Regions from separate parts of the Homo sapiens genome. Here all the other regions are linked to region 3. Evidence: promoter capture Hi-C in 16 types of primary human blood cells and fetal thymus (Javierre and others, 2016). All regions are on one chromosome and are shown on one strand. The core of a region is centred on a gene start or on the middle of the fragment in contact, and the rest is flanking DNA. Distances in the headings are between cores, read along the strand shown. Region 1 overlaps SLCO3A1 (solute carrier organic anion transporter family member 3A1). Region 2 overlaps SLCO3A1 (solute carrier organic anion transporter family member 3A1). Region 3 holds the start of CHASERR (CHD2 adjacent suppressive regulatory RNA).

What was found. The method cuts DNA at HindIII sites, captures the fragments that hold promoters and counts their contacts. A CHiCAGO score of 5 or more calls a contact.
Region 1: a fragment that was not itself captured here is called in contact with the fragment with the promoter of CHASERR in region 3 in 1 of 17 cell types (M0 macrophages); the score reaches 5.7 in M0 macrophages.
Region 2: a fragment that was not itself captured here is called in contact with the fragment with the promoter of CHASERR in region 3 in 1 of 17 cell types (fetal thymus); the score reaches 8.1 in fetal thymus.

Annotation. Positions count from the first base shown.
Region 1 is chr15:91,941,981-91,946,850 of GRCh38, reverse strand. All of the region lies in intron 2 of SLCO3A1 (solute carrier organic anion transporter family member 3A1), which reads right to left. Among named protein-coding and RNA genes, the nearest start is that of SLCO3A1, 91 kb to the right of the region's middle. The HindIII fragment of the contact is 2,849 bases long and covers 1,971-4,819 here.
Region 2 is chr15:92,103,341-92,107,729 of GRCh38, reverse strand. It overlaps SLCO3A1 (solute carrier organic anion transporter family member 3A1), which reads right to left. Exons shown (of 10, transcript NM_013272.4): 4 at 3,188-3,451. Among named protein-coding and RNA genes, the nearest start is that of SLCO3A1, 250 kb to the right of the region's middle. The HindIII fragment of the contact is 2,477 bases long and covers 1,783-4,259 here.
Region 3 is chr15:92,881,593-92,886,456 of GRCh38, reverse strand. CHASERR (CHD2 adjacent suppressive regulatory RNA) reads right to left here and starts at 3,614. Exons shown (of 6, transcript NR_037601.1): 1 at 3,271-3,614; 2 at 2,679-2,872; 3 at 873-942; 4 at 203-288. RefSeq lists silencers at 2,888-3,137, 3,758-3,887 and enhancers at 3,131-3,772, 4,198-4,287. The HindIII fragment of the contact is 7,161 bases long and covers 480-4,864 here.

The DNA.
Region 1 (4,870 bases), core at 2,146-4,645, 940 kb after region 3:
ACGCCGACCTGCCCTTCCTCGGAGGGGAATTTTGGTAACTCCAGTCATTTGCTCTTACCCCTTGGCCTTTAAGCATTATGACAACTAAACTGGGAACTGGGGGTTCTGACAGCATGCTTCCTTTTTCATGTAACTGCATCATAGACATATTTAGGAAAAATGAAACAGTATAATCCTCCCAAGTCCTTCTCCTTAAGTGCATTGCACACTCAACCCATACTACGAAGTCCTATTTTTTCACTTGGTTCTCTACCACATGCATTCCAAAGTTACAGAATATTCTTCTGACCACTACCTAATATTTGGGAAATATTCCATCATTTTCATATAACATAACTGACTGAACCATTTCCCTACATACTGGCCACTTTCAAATCTCTCCTGTTTGCCATAAACTCTGAAGGATGTTTCTGTCTACCAGGGCCCGGAGTGCTCCTCACTGGTTCTTGGCACTGCCTGGAACACAGGGTATCTGGGAATCAATGGAAGGTAACACGATCAGATTCACAGGCTGCCCAGGGCTGATCTCACTGGTGAGAGTGTAGGTTAAAAATCAAAGACGTGCAGCCTGGCTCCCTGCCACTGACCAGCTGGGTGACACCAGCTGAGTGGCTCAACCTCTCCGCAGAGAAGACGCTGCCCTAATTATCTCTAAGTCTTCTCAGCACTTGCATTACAAGAGGCCTGCTCTCAGCGTCCACAGAACCAAGGTGACCTGGGGACACACTCCCTGAAGTAAGAAGTCCATACTGAATCCATGCCCACAAACTAGTGCAGGATCATGCCTGATGCTTTTACTTCGCTATCACCAAGTGATATTTATATGTTCAAAGAAAATGACAGATAGTGCTTAATCAAAATAAGAGGGAAAAGGGATGAGTGTTTGAGAAAGTGAAAAGCTCTAGGCATTATCTGGGATTTTTCTCATTGTCTAAATTCTCTTCCCTCCCTCTCCATCACAATCCATCAGGAACTCCTCTCAATTCTGCCTTGAAAATCTCTCCAACCTTCTCTGCCTCCTTGGTAGCCCAGGGTGACATGTTATCTTCAGTCGCCTCCAAATCAGTCACCCAGACCCATTAGCACAGTAGCCAGTCACCATCGGATCACATTGTTCCTACCTAAACCCTGCAAGTGGATTCCCATTACACTCAGAAAAGCACTCTGAAACTTTCCTGCAGCCAGCCAGGCCCTGTGGGGCCAGCTGTGGCCACCTCTCCAACTCTCCATCTCCCTCTGCCCCTGGGGTGTTATTTTGGCATAGTAACTTTCTCTCCCTTTCCGCCACAGGACCTTTGCATATGCTGTCCTTGCTGCCTTCGGTGTTTCCCCTTCACAGCACTCATTACAACTTGCCGCTATTGTGTCTGTTTACGTATTCACTTATTCATTCACTTTTGGCTGTCTTCCCTATTAGAATGTAAACGAGGCCAGGGTCCTTATCTCCTTTGTTCATCACATTCCCAGTACAGAATCCAGTGCCAGCCACGTAATTTTTTTTTTTTTTTTGAGATGGAGTCTCACTCTGTCTCCCAGGTTGAAGTGCAATGGTATAATCTAGGTTCACTGCAACCTCAGCCTCCCAGGTTCAAGTGATTCTCCTGCCTCAGCCTCCCAAGTAGCTGAGATTACAGGCACACGCCACCATGCCCAGCTAATTTTTGTATTTTTAGTAGAGACAGGGTTTCACCATGTTGGTCAGGGTGTCTCGAACTCCTGACCTCGTGATCGCCTGCCTCGGCCTCCCAAAGTGCTGGGATTACAGGCATGAGCCACCATGCCCAACCAAAAATATTTAATAAATATCTGTTGGGTGAATAAAGGGAATATACAGTTCATAGCTCAGAACAAAAACTGTTCAAAGACAATTCAATTAGGGCCTGAGTCCTCATTCTAAGTTAAAGAGAATATTGGAGAAAAGTTGAAATTTGGGCGTGGCAGAGGAATCTTAACATGTACTACAGAAAGCTTAAGGGAAGTGCAAGGTTTCTGTTGCACCCAAAAAAAGAGGGGGAGAGAAAGAGAGAGAGAGGGAGCCTGCTCGTGCCTTTCCCCCTCTGGATGGCCATCATCAGTTCTGCAGGGAAGAAAAGCCCCCTCGATTTCTCCACATTCCTTCGTGAAAGACTCAGATGTTCAGAACTCAAAGCAGGCTCCTCTTTGAAAAGCATCTCGGGGGAGAGTGGGAAGGATTACTCTGACTCCTCCATATCAGAGATGCAAACCCTCCAGGACTTGCATTGTCATAATATCCGTGGCTGTCTGCTTGTCCATGGCTGAGCGGGGTGACAGAGTTCCAAAGGGAGCTGGCAGGACTTGTGACGGATCACTTGCTAAGTAAGCACAGAAGCCAAAGCCACTCTGAGCCCCACGCTGCAGCTGCTTACTATTCTGTGAAGCTGGTACTGAGAAGAGGGTTCACCCAATGCTTTGTCTCACTTTGGTGGATAGGTCTGGGAGCATCCTTCCAATACTGCTTTTCTCCCCTTGGCCATGTCTGTCTTGCCTCGAAGCCCAGAAATCAGGTACTGAATCTGTAAGGGGCTCACATTCCAAAGGGGGAGCCCTGGAGACCTAAGGCAGCTTACATCTTAGGAGGGACCTTGCACAGGGATATGGTAATCATACAAATAATGGTGAACACTTACGTGAGGGCTTCCTATGTGCCAGTGGCTGTTTTCAGTCCTTTGTAATAGATCAACATACATCAGCAACCCTAGGGAGGCAGTTTATAGATGAAGGAAACTGAGGTACAGTGAGGTTGTGCAATGTGCCCAAGGTCATCCTGCTAGTAATTATATCAGACAAGATGTGCAGGTAGCAAATGGCACGCTCAAAAGTTTCCAATGAAGAGCAGCTAATGGAGGTCTATTGACAGAAGTGAAGGCAGAGCCAAGGGACCCACCGAGGGATGCTAAGGCACCCAAGACAAGCAACATGGGAGGCAGTCACCAGAGGGTAGCCCTGAAGAGGCACAAAGAGGGAACCAGGTCATTGGAATCCAGCAAGAGCTGGCCTCTGGGGAGAGGAAGCCAGCGATGCCCAAATCATGACCTAGCACAGATGGAGGGAATACATTCCCAGGCCATTCTGTGTCCTCTGGGGCTCTGGCTTCTTCCTGGAGCCTCCTAGTCACCTCTATTTTATCAACAATGAGACATGAAAATTATGCACTGGGTATGAAAAACAGTATGGCGGTTCCTCGAAAAATTAAACATGGAATTACCATATAATCCAGCATTTCCATTTCTGGGTGTAAGCAAGAGAATTAAAAGCAGGAACTCAAAAGACATTTTGCACACCTATGGTTCATAGCAGCATTAATTCACAGCAGCCATAGGTGCAAGCAATCCTAGTGTCCATAGCAGATGAATGGATAAACAAAATATGGTTTACACCTACAATGAAATATGATTCTGCCTTAAAAAGGAAGGAAATTCTGACACAGGCTACAACTTGGATGAACCTTGAGGACATGATACTAAGTGAAGTAAACCAGTCACAAAAGGACAGATACTGTAGGGTTCCACTTCCAGGAGGTAACTAGGATAGCAAGACTCACAGAGACAGAAGGAAGCACACTGGTGGTTGCCAAGGGCTGAGGGGAGGGGGAATGGGGAGTTGTTTAATGAGTGCAGTTTCGGTTTTGCAACACGAAACATTCTGGAGATTGCACAACACTGGGAGTGTCCTTAACACTACTAGGCTGCACACTTACAAATGGGTAAGATGCTACGTTTTATGCTATGTGTCTTTTACCATCAATTTCTATAAAATGGAAATGAGACTAGACCTGAGGTTTTCAGTGTGCTCTGTGGAGACCTGAATTAATTACAAGGACAGAAGGTCAAGGGAGATGCTTTTAGGAGAGAAAGGGAGGCAGAACGAGGTCAAACGGCTGGGCCCTGGGCCCCACGCCCACTCGGGCAGAGCAGTTCTGCTCTGTCTGATCAATAGGGGAACTCCCCTTAAGATTTCCAGCAAAGGGCTGGGTGTGGTGGCTCATGCCTGTAATTCCAGCTCCTTGGGAGGAGTGATCAGTGACCTGATCACTTTAGGTCAGGAATTTGAGACCAGGCTGGCCAACATGGAGAAACCCCATCTCTTTTCAAAAATTAGCCGGGCGTGGTGGTGCACGCCTGTAATTCCAGCTTCTTGGGAATTACCTTCACCCAGGAGGTGGAGGTTGCAGTGAGCTGAGATTGGGCCACTGCAATCCAGCCTGGTCGACAGAGCAAGACTCGGTCTCGAAACAAACAAACAAACAAACAAACATACATTTCCAGCAGAGTTCTGTTGCAAAACAAAGTTTGAAAACCAGTGAGCCTGGGCATCGTCAATCTAAGAGGGATGGCCACTGACACACAACTCCAGGCCACATCCAACTACGGTCTCTACATGGTGCCCCCTGCAGTTGTGCCATAGTAGCACTGCTAAATGGCATGTTTTACCTGCACAGCTATAGGAATATACATAAAACAAAATCTCAACGATGGACAGGTGTGTGTTCTCATATCACCACTGTGTAACAATATCTAATCAAGTCCTGGAGGCTCTGAAATGCCTGCTATAGATCAGACATTGTGGGGTTCAGCAGTTGCTACATTTTTGGATTTCACAGAAGAGTCAAATATAAAATATTGAGGGGTAAATGACAGAGGTGCCACCTTTTTATTTCTACAAGTAAAATTTTAATAAGAAAAGCTGCCGTGATCCAAAATTATGATTTCCTAAAATTAGGTACATTTAAACAGCAAAACAGTAGGTGGTGGCATTGTCTAGAATAAAGAACAAGACTCTAAATTGAATAAATTAAGCTTATGACAAACTCTCCACCTTGTACTGTTCTCTCATTTTTGTCGTGGATGGG
Region 2 (4,389 bases), core at 1,772-4,271, 780 kb after region 3:
ATGCCAGCTCTTATCAGGGGGCCTTTGCTGTCTGCAGAGCATGGCAGGGGGCACAGATTGATGGCCAAAGAAGAAACCCATTTGGAAGCTCAGACAAAACGGATGAGAAATTGCAACATGGGGTTTTAGGAGCAATGTCAGTTCTATGTATACATGCAACGCCGTTCAGCTTATTGAAACCCACAAATGTGTAACACACTGCATGTATATAGCACTGCATTTGCAGCGTGGGTTTTCCAGGATGCAAACTGGATGAAGGGTTTTGGAATGCCAGGGTGCACTGCATGGTGCTTTTGGTGGAAAAGCTCGTATAGCAAAAACATGTGTCTCGCATGGAGAAATAAATCATGTAAACGACTGTGGCCCCACTTCATGCACTGGCATGTGTAAAATGTGTTTATTAGCATAATAGCTCATTTCACTGTATTTTGGCTCTTAAGGAATCTTGCAGAAACACTTTCTTCTTTTCCTGTTGAGACATCCTTTTAGTCCATTATGGGCCAATTGCCTCTGGGAATTGTTAATTCTAAATTAAAATCATTAACCATCAGAAGTGAAGCCTGTGCGTATACAGATCACAATTTGTAATCAATATGGCCTCGCGGGTCCCAGACTTGTCTACCTGACTGTGTACTTGTCAGCTCAACGGCAGCTCATCCAGTGCTTGCTTACCTTGTCATTGCTCTGAGCTTGCCTATTGCACCCTAGTGGAACATAAGCTCCAGAATATAAGTCAATTTAGTCAAGGCTGTGCTTAGCACCGAGTAGGGTCTCAGTAACTACCAATGGAATAAAACAAATGAGTTAATGAGCGACTGAATCATGACCCAAGAATGCTTAAGCCATAGCAGGGCTCAAGACTTGGCTCAGCTCTGCCGCTGACCCTTTCCTCACCCGTGACTCCCAGCCCAGGAGCGGTGGGCTTCTCTCTGCCTCTTTGCTGCATTTCTGTAACCACCTGTGCTGCTTGTTATTGCGGTTCTCAAAACACTGGGCTGCCTTTGCTGACTTGCAGACCTGGTCCTGTGTGGGATGGTGAGTTCTCTGATGGCACCATTGTATCTTTTTAATCTTTTTATTCCCAGAGATGAAAGACAAGTGATTACTAGTGCAGCTTTTACAATCAGAGCCCTAGGGAAACAGGGTCATCATCCCGAGGTGGGGAGCAACCTGAAAATACTGTAGTCGCCCATGGCCAGGATGTCCTTTGAAAGCCACACTCTCATGCCTGCCCAATTTATTCCTAGGGGTCTAGTTACCAGGACACTTTCTATGGATGGCTATTAGGGGAGTCTCAGGCATCACTCTCCTGCTACTAGGGGAGTCGCAGGCACCCTCCTTGCCTGGGGCCTGCTGGAAGTGAGCCTATTTTATTAAGCACACGTGCATGAGGACGGGGGCATTCCAACCAAGGCAACCTTAGAGGACACAGATTGGCTGGCCTTCTCATCTACCGGTGCATTCTGGAACTTAAGTTTTATGGATGATTCCAAATTACAGCATTGGTAGAAACCATCATGGAACATGGGGCCAGACATAACATTACGATATTAAATTTGTCTCTTTTCAGAAATCGCACAAGTTCTTGAGATTTCTCATGGACTAACAGGTACGATTAACAGACAGTCTTCTGCAGCAGTGCTTTCATTCTTGAGACAGCACTGGCAGTGAGGAACTGTGTTATTACAGTTTTACATTCGTGGAAAAGAAGCAGGGGGCAGTTAATGATCGCAGGGCTGGTGAGGAACAGAACAGGGGGCTGAGCACAAAGCAGTTCAAGCTTCTCTCCACAAATCTCTAGCATCTCTATAGAAGGCGCACATTGTTACACAGAAGTTTAGTAAACAGACTTTCACTGCTAGGAAATGTCTAAATAAAGCACAGGAGGACTGCATCTGCCGCTGTGGAAGGCTGGCCCGGCTGAGTGCCGCATTCCTGCACAGAGGGGACTGACCATCTCCCTTCTGCATCCCAGCTTCCCTGGGAAGTAGTGCCTGACCTTGCTCCTGGCTGCATGAGCCCACTCATTTCTAAAATCCAGCAGGACGTCAGGGGAGCTGAGCAAGGAGTCGTGTGCATTAAGGAACCTCACACATACCTCGCCTGATAGTCGCCGAGCAGCTTCTGAGACTGCCAGGCTACATTCAGCTCCTTGTCATTTTCCTCGTCTTTAAAGGATTGTGCCGAAGATGGAAACAACTTGGGCGGTGGTGGTGGAGGGGGGTTCTCACTCTGCATCATTGTTTGTGCTTCACCATTTTGTCAGAAAAGTTGCACTTTTTTTTCTTTAAAAAATGATAGCAAGAGCTTTGCTGCATCCTAAAGTGTGACTGTGTCATTAAGACTGGGTTAATATTTCTTTCTGCAGGAAAACATCTCTCATCTTTAGTGGAGACAATGAAAGGACAAAGTGAATGTAAAGAAATGTACTTTGAAGGTGGCTTTTTTTTCTTTTGAGATGAGAGTCTTGCTGTGTCACCCAGGCTGGAGTGCAGTGGCTCAATCTTGGCTCACTGCAACCTCTGGTGAGCTTGAACCCAGGATCAAGCGATTCTCCTGCCTCAGCCTCCCGAGTAGCTGGGATTACAGGCACATGCCACCAAGCCCGGCTAATTTTTGTATTTTAGCAGATATGGGGTTTCACCACGTTGGCCAGGCTGGTCTCAAACTTCTGACCTCAAGTGATCCACCTGCCTTGGCTTCCCAAAGGGCTGGGATTACAGATGTGATTACACCGGGCGCGGTGGCTGGGATTACAGCCACCGCGCCCGGCTGGAGGTGGCTTTTCAAAGAATGCTGATATCAGGCAAAGGAAGCCAACTTCAAAATTCCTTTATTGCTTCCAGGTGCTTATGGGTGGCCTGAAAGAATTCAAAAAAGCTCCACAGAATATTTTGCTTCCTTCTGAAGACATTTATGTTTATTAAATGTCAGGTCCTATATTAACCACTGGGTCCCTTTAACAAATGGTAGCTACTTTATTTTTGTTTTTATTAAGCAAGTCAGGTTATTTACTTCTCAGGAATAAGTTAAGCACCTGGCTGGTAGAGGCCAGCCATGCAAGCCAATATTATTCTGCCTCCACCAAGTCCCCAAGCACCCCAGTCCTGGGTGCCACCCCTTCATTCATCACCCCCATCCCAATCCCCCTACTGTTCTGAGCAGAGGCAGATGAGGCCACCTTTACCTCTCAGCTGCTGGAAACAGGAGGCACTGCTGTCTGGCTCCAGGGGGTGCCTCAGGACCCCGTTGCTGGGCTTGGGTCTCTCGTATTCTCTTTCGGAGAGCATGGCCTGCTCGCTTTCCATGGCGGGCTCTGAGTGCGGGGGCAGGGACTGTGGAAACCCAAACATCAAGAGGGAAGAGAAGAAGAGTAAGGCACCGCAGAGCAGAAAGCCACCCCACCAGGCTCCGATCCAGCGGGGGTCGTCCGGAGTGATGTCCAGGTTACCTGTAAATGGAAAGAGCACAGCTTAGTGGAGAAAAGAAGGCTGGACCACTGGGGATTTTGCTGAGAATCTGAATCCGCTGAACAGAGAGGGCAAGGGCTCTAGAAATGACTTGCGGTCGGGAACACTGGCTGCCAGGCTACGAAGCCTATTGTTCCACACCAGCGGTTCTGTTTCTCTCAAAGCCGGAGGCTGATCACATTCCCCCCTTAATTTTCTTGTCTACCCTGTGTTTATATCGGTCTAAACAAAAACAGTGAGAAGCCAGACGTTCTCTGAATTTAGGCTAAAACTGGCTTGGCAGCACTGCTAAGGTGTACTGAAAGAAGCACAAGGAAATGTTTATTGTTCAGAGGTAGATTTTCACCGGGTATATTCACTCTTGGCTTCCAAAAAGCAGCTCACACGAGATCCCACTCAATGCCCCACTCACTGCCTCAATTTAGGTTCACAGCTCATAAGGGGAGGCGCACAATAGGGTTTTAGAGCAGGGCCTCTGAAGCCAGGCTGCCTGGGTTGAAGTCCTACCCCTTTGTCTCTGTGTGACCCTAGGCCAGTGGTTTGAACTCTCTATGCCTCAGTTTACTGATCTGTATAACATCTAGGATGATGGCAGTACTTAGTGGGAAGATCAAATGACCACACCAGACATAAAATGCTCAGAAGAGTGCCTGGCGCATGCTTGGGCACCCAGATGATGGTAGCCTGTTATTTATGGTGAGGGGCCTTTGTTTCCATGCATTAATTAATTAATTAATGCCAACTTTGTTGGTGGCCTGTGGTTTGGCACCAGCTCTCTAATACAAAGCTTTGCAGTCAACTCATGTGCTTAAAGGGGCTATGCATATGGTTTGGTGGCACTGTACCACTATTTCTTTTATTGTGCCAGCTAAGTCACAAGAACATAAACTTCAGCTTACCCTTTGGTACAGTTTTTTTC
Region 3 (4,864 bases), core at 2,365-4,864:
CTCCAATATAAATTACATGCATCGACTGTCTTGATAGTAATAGAAGTGTTTTCAATGTCAGGCAAAGAAATTTGATGGTTTTCTCATCCTTTCAGTGATAAGTAGTCTACAGTTTGTTTCATTAACAAACTTTAATGGTATTTTTCTACTTAAATGTTGGTAACTATTCAATTGCAGATGTTGGGTAAAAACATTTACTTACTTGCTATATAAAATACTGACTTTCCCAAAGATTTCCTTTATCCTCTAGGATAAAACTCCAACGTCTCAGTCTTCAAAATGGCATACCTTTTGGTGAAAACAAATAAGATTCTAAACTTAATTATGAAGCAAACAATAGCAAGTAAAAATAAGTGTTTTTAAACTTTTTAATTACAAAAAAGAAACTAAAATCTATGCTCAAAACCTGATTTTTTAAATGTTCTTCCCTAAAATCTATCAGTATGAATAGCAAACTAGTTCAAATTCTCCAATAAGCTTATTTCTTTAAATACTTAAAAGATTAAAATTGTTTGCACAATATACAGAGTTAAACAGAAAAAAAAAGCTATCTTTGGTTCATGGTTTTCCTCAAAATCTAATCAGTCTTCTCTTGTTCCCAAAATTAAACAAAGGCTTAAAGGACCTTCAGTATTTTAAACTATTCAAAGGGTACATTAAGTTACAATGGCTATGCGTATATACTTTTAATCTTTCCTGCAGTGAAAAGGCTTAAAGGCTTTTGTCAAATTATTTGATAGTTTACTCATATTCATAATCACAACTTTTAAAAATGATACCCATTCATTAATTGAAATGTAAATTATTAAAGATAAAACAAAAGCCTAATAAGCTAATTTTTGTCAAAACAATAAAAATTAACCCACTCTTACCTCAAATAAAAGAACTCATTATTTGTTCAGAACCAACAGCAACCAAATTAATTTTAATCTCTTAAGTCACCTTTAAAAAAAAGAAGAAAGATGATATTAATGTTTTGATTTTCAAGCATTTCTTGGCCAACGATTCAGTGTGATGAAACAAGAAAATATTCCACAGACAAAAATCTATGGGCAAACTGAAGAGATGGCTCATGGACACATAACCTGTATACATTTATGGTTGCAGTTATTTCTTATCTTAGTATCTATCAGTCTTTGTTTTCCTCATCTTTTGGCTGTATTGACCAATGCTAAAGATTAACGCATTGAATTAAACAGAAATACAGAAAATTCAAATTTTTGGACTGATTTAAGATTATGAACCTTTTTTTTTTTACTTTCCCTCTTTTTATGACAGGCAATAAACAAAGAAAAAGTTTACCATTCTTCAAGACAAATCATCTTAACATCTCCCTTACCATCCGGAAGTATGTTTTACAATCATGAGCAATTAAAAATTAGCTCCTCCAAGAGAAATTAGTGAAGTTAAAATGGCCACTGGTTACTTTAAATTTTAAACCACAAGTTACTTGATCTCACCAAGTGGGATACTAGCTTTGTCTCTAAAGCTACTCTAAAACTTACAGTATCTAGACCTTTACACTCAATTTCAAATCAGGGTCTTCAACATTTTCATTTCAGTCTTTCTCCTCCCCCATTTATCATGTAAAAAGATCTTTCAGGTTAAACTGCTAACAATTATTTTGCATTTCACAATTCAAAGAGGATTCTAAAGAACTAGATTCAGAATATTCATTTAAAACCACTTTCAGTGTTCAAAAATTTCAGAAACATTGATTTGAAAAACCAAAATTGGTACTTAAGACAGATTCTGTAAAATCAAGATATGCGCAACTGATGTAACATGTACCACTATAGGAAGGCTACTCAAAAAATAAAACAATTTTACTGGAAAAATGCCCTTAGAAATATGGTCGAATAAACCAGTATCTGATTTCAGATGTACTATGTAAGTCTGCCCAACACTATTTTTACGTAGTTCTGCACCTTTACAACACAAGAGCTCCGCAGAATGAAGACAAATATATTCTAAAATACACAAAGGTTTGTGCGCTTCTGGTTTGTTCTTCAAACCACTACACTTAAAAATTACCCTTCCAACATTTTTCTAAGATTAGAGACTATACAGAGAACTCTACTAAATTTTATGAAACCTGTACTTTTAAAATACTGTTCCGTTTTAAGCATATCTAGATTTTTATACATGCAACAAATGCAACAAATATGGCTCCTCTTCATCGCCCATTACCGAGAGCAGTCCTACTTTATTCATATTTACATTACGAGAAAGTAACTTCAGGAAGAGATTTGGTGTCAGAATGTTCTTTTGTGAAAGTTTTTCGATCATGGCTTGTGATAATATAAATTCTTAAAAATAATTAAATTATGAACTTTTAAAGACTAGGAATTGACCCAAGTACGTTCTAACATTCAGGTGTGAGAAGTTGCAGATAACGGCTCCTTGAGACCTTTTTAAAAAGTACCAAACAGTGTATTTAATCATATTTAAATATCAGGAGATCAAATGATCTTGGCGTCATTACTCGGTAAAATAAACTACATTAACCAAACGTCATCAGCTAGCTAGCACCGTAATTATCAAATCTATTTCCATTAAACAGCCTTGACGACACAGTAAACTTGTCTTCGTAATTCTGAAATACCAGAAGCACTCCTCCAACTTGCATTTTTCAAAGACAACCTTAACGTCATAAAGGTTTAATAAGCAGCAAGTACCTTCGCATGTATCACTGCAGCCGTTTCAAAATCGGCTTTGAAAGAGTTAAAAGCCAACACCCAATAGGAGGGAAAAAAACAAGTTTTATTTTTGTTGAAACGTAGTCAGGGTTCCATTGTTCTTTTAAATTCGATCATGAAGATGAGTTCCCACCTCACCGGAAAGAGGTTAAAAAGCTCCTCCGTTGGAGAACCTGAAAGGGATTTTTTTACCCTAAATATCAAAATAACTCACCAGGACAGAAAGGGGCTCTCCACGCCCGATCCCCTTCGGGCTCTCGCCGGCATTCACCCGCCGCCCCTTTCCCGGCGGATCCAGTCCCGGCGACGAGGCTGCCCCCCGCCCACCTGCCGCCCGCGGGCTCTGCAGCGGGGCCCCGCGTGCCCCCTACCCCAGGACCCTACGACTCGGGCCCAGGGCACCGAGGCGCATCCCGCCGGCGAGAGCCGGCCCCCGACCACGGAGGGGCAGTGCGAGAAGAGCCGAGCGGCGAGGCCCGGCCCGCCGCCCCCTCCTGCTCGCGCGCTCAAGGACATTTTGCTTTTCCTCCCAAGGACAAAGGACAATAAAAGGAGCTAGGGAGCCACTCACCGGGTCCGAGCGCGGCCACCGGCACCTCCTGGTCGCCCAAACCCGAGTCCCGGGCCGGACCGCCCGCCCGAGCCTCCCGCCCGCGCCGGGTCCAGCCGCCGGGGCCCGGGGGAGCCTCCGAGGCGGCAACCGCAGCGGCGCTTTCGGCGTCGTGGGCCCGGCCGCCCTGGGCGCCTCTGCCGCGGGCTGTGACGCCGACGCGCGCGGCCCGCCTCGCCTCAGCCGCGGCAGCCCCACTCCCGCGGGCCTGCTGGCCGTCCGGGCGTAGCTCCCCGCCGGCCGGCGGGCCTCGCGGCCGCGGCGGAACGCCTGACAGCTCGGGGTGCTGCTGCCTCTCCGGCCATCTTGTGCCGTGTGTGTGGTGTCTCTCTCCCGTCTCCTCTCTAGGCTTTACTCCCTCCTCCTCCTCCCCCCGCCCCACACACCACACAACATGGCCTCTTCGCTGCGGCGGCAGCGGCTGCGGCGGCGGCAGGAGCTCCGCCGCGCTCCAGCCCGCTCCCCTCCCCCACCATCCCCGCCTCCCGCCCGCAGGCCCGGGGGCCAACGCGCACGCGCGCCGCCGCCCGCCCGCCGCGGCCATTGGCTCCACGAGCTTCCTGCATCCCCTATCCGGGAGCGGCCTCACGCACGTTAGCTGGCGTCTTCCTCCCTCCCAACAACAACTTCTTCCATTCTATTGGTTAATTTCAACACCACCCCTTCCGCCTCCTTCGTGCGGATAGGCTGGCCTTAGTGCCATTCACTGTCCGTAGGCGTTTCTGGTTTTCTTGAGAAGCCCCGGGCCACGATTGGCTGGTGATGGAACCTTTGGGGTTGGAGCTGAGCTGTTGCTTTTTTCCCCGCAGTGCGGACCCCTCCAGGCTAGCTGGAGGGTTCCTGGTATGGTCTAGGCCAGGCTAGAATGGTTAGTGCAGGGTCGCACAAATAGTGGATTCGCGTCTAGAAAAAGCTCTGGCTTCGGTGTTTCTAGGTTCAGATTTTGTCTTTAAAAAAAGGGAAAGAAAAAAATGACTGACAGGATGATGAGCAAACAAGATACAGGCCCACAGCCCTTGGGCAAGCAGCCATATCCTCAAAATATTTGTTCTAAGCACCCAGGCCTTCCATGAAGGTCACACAGTCAGGACCAATGGTTTTACCATCAGCACATTCCCTAGCCCCAGTATCCGAGTTGAGATGCGATTTATTTGTGGATTTGTAGACTGCCTGTTGCGCATTTACCTGAGAGCCTAAAAGAATGTCTAGTGTCTTGTGAGCTGTCGTCATGGAAATCAAAAAAAACAATTAAAAAGAATGTCCAGTGTCCTGAGGCCTTAGCGAATCAATCTCAATACCGGTTGACTGGATTCCACCCTGTAGGACAATGTTTGTTAGAGTAGCAGTTTGAACCTGAAAAATCATAGTCTACCTTTTCAACCTCCTTCCAGAGAACCAGGCAAAACAAGTTTCATTTGCTTTCGGCAAATCTCACTTTTTTTTCGTTACTTCTTCCTACTTTAACGTGGAAACAACTCTAAGAAGACCATAGGAAAAAAATGAAAACCTAAACTTTCCTGAAATGGATGGGGAAAAAAAAAAGAGGTAGCTCTCT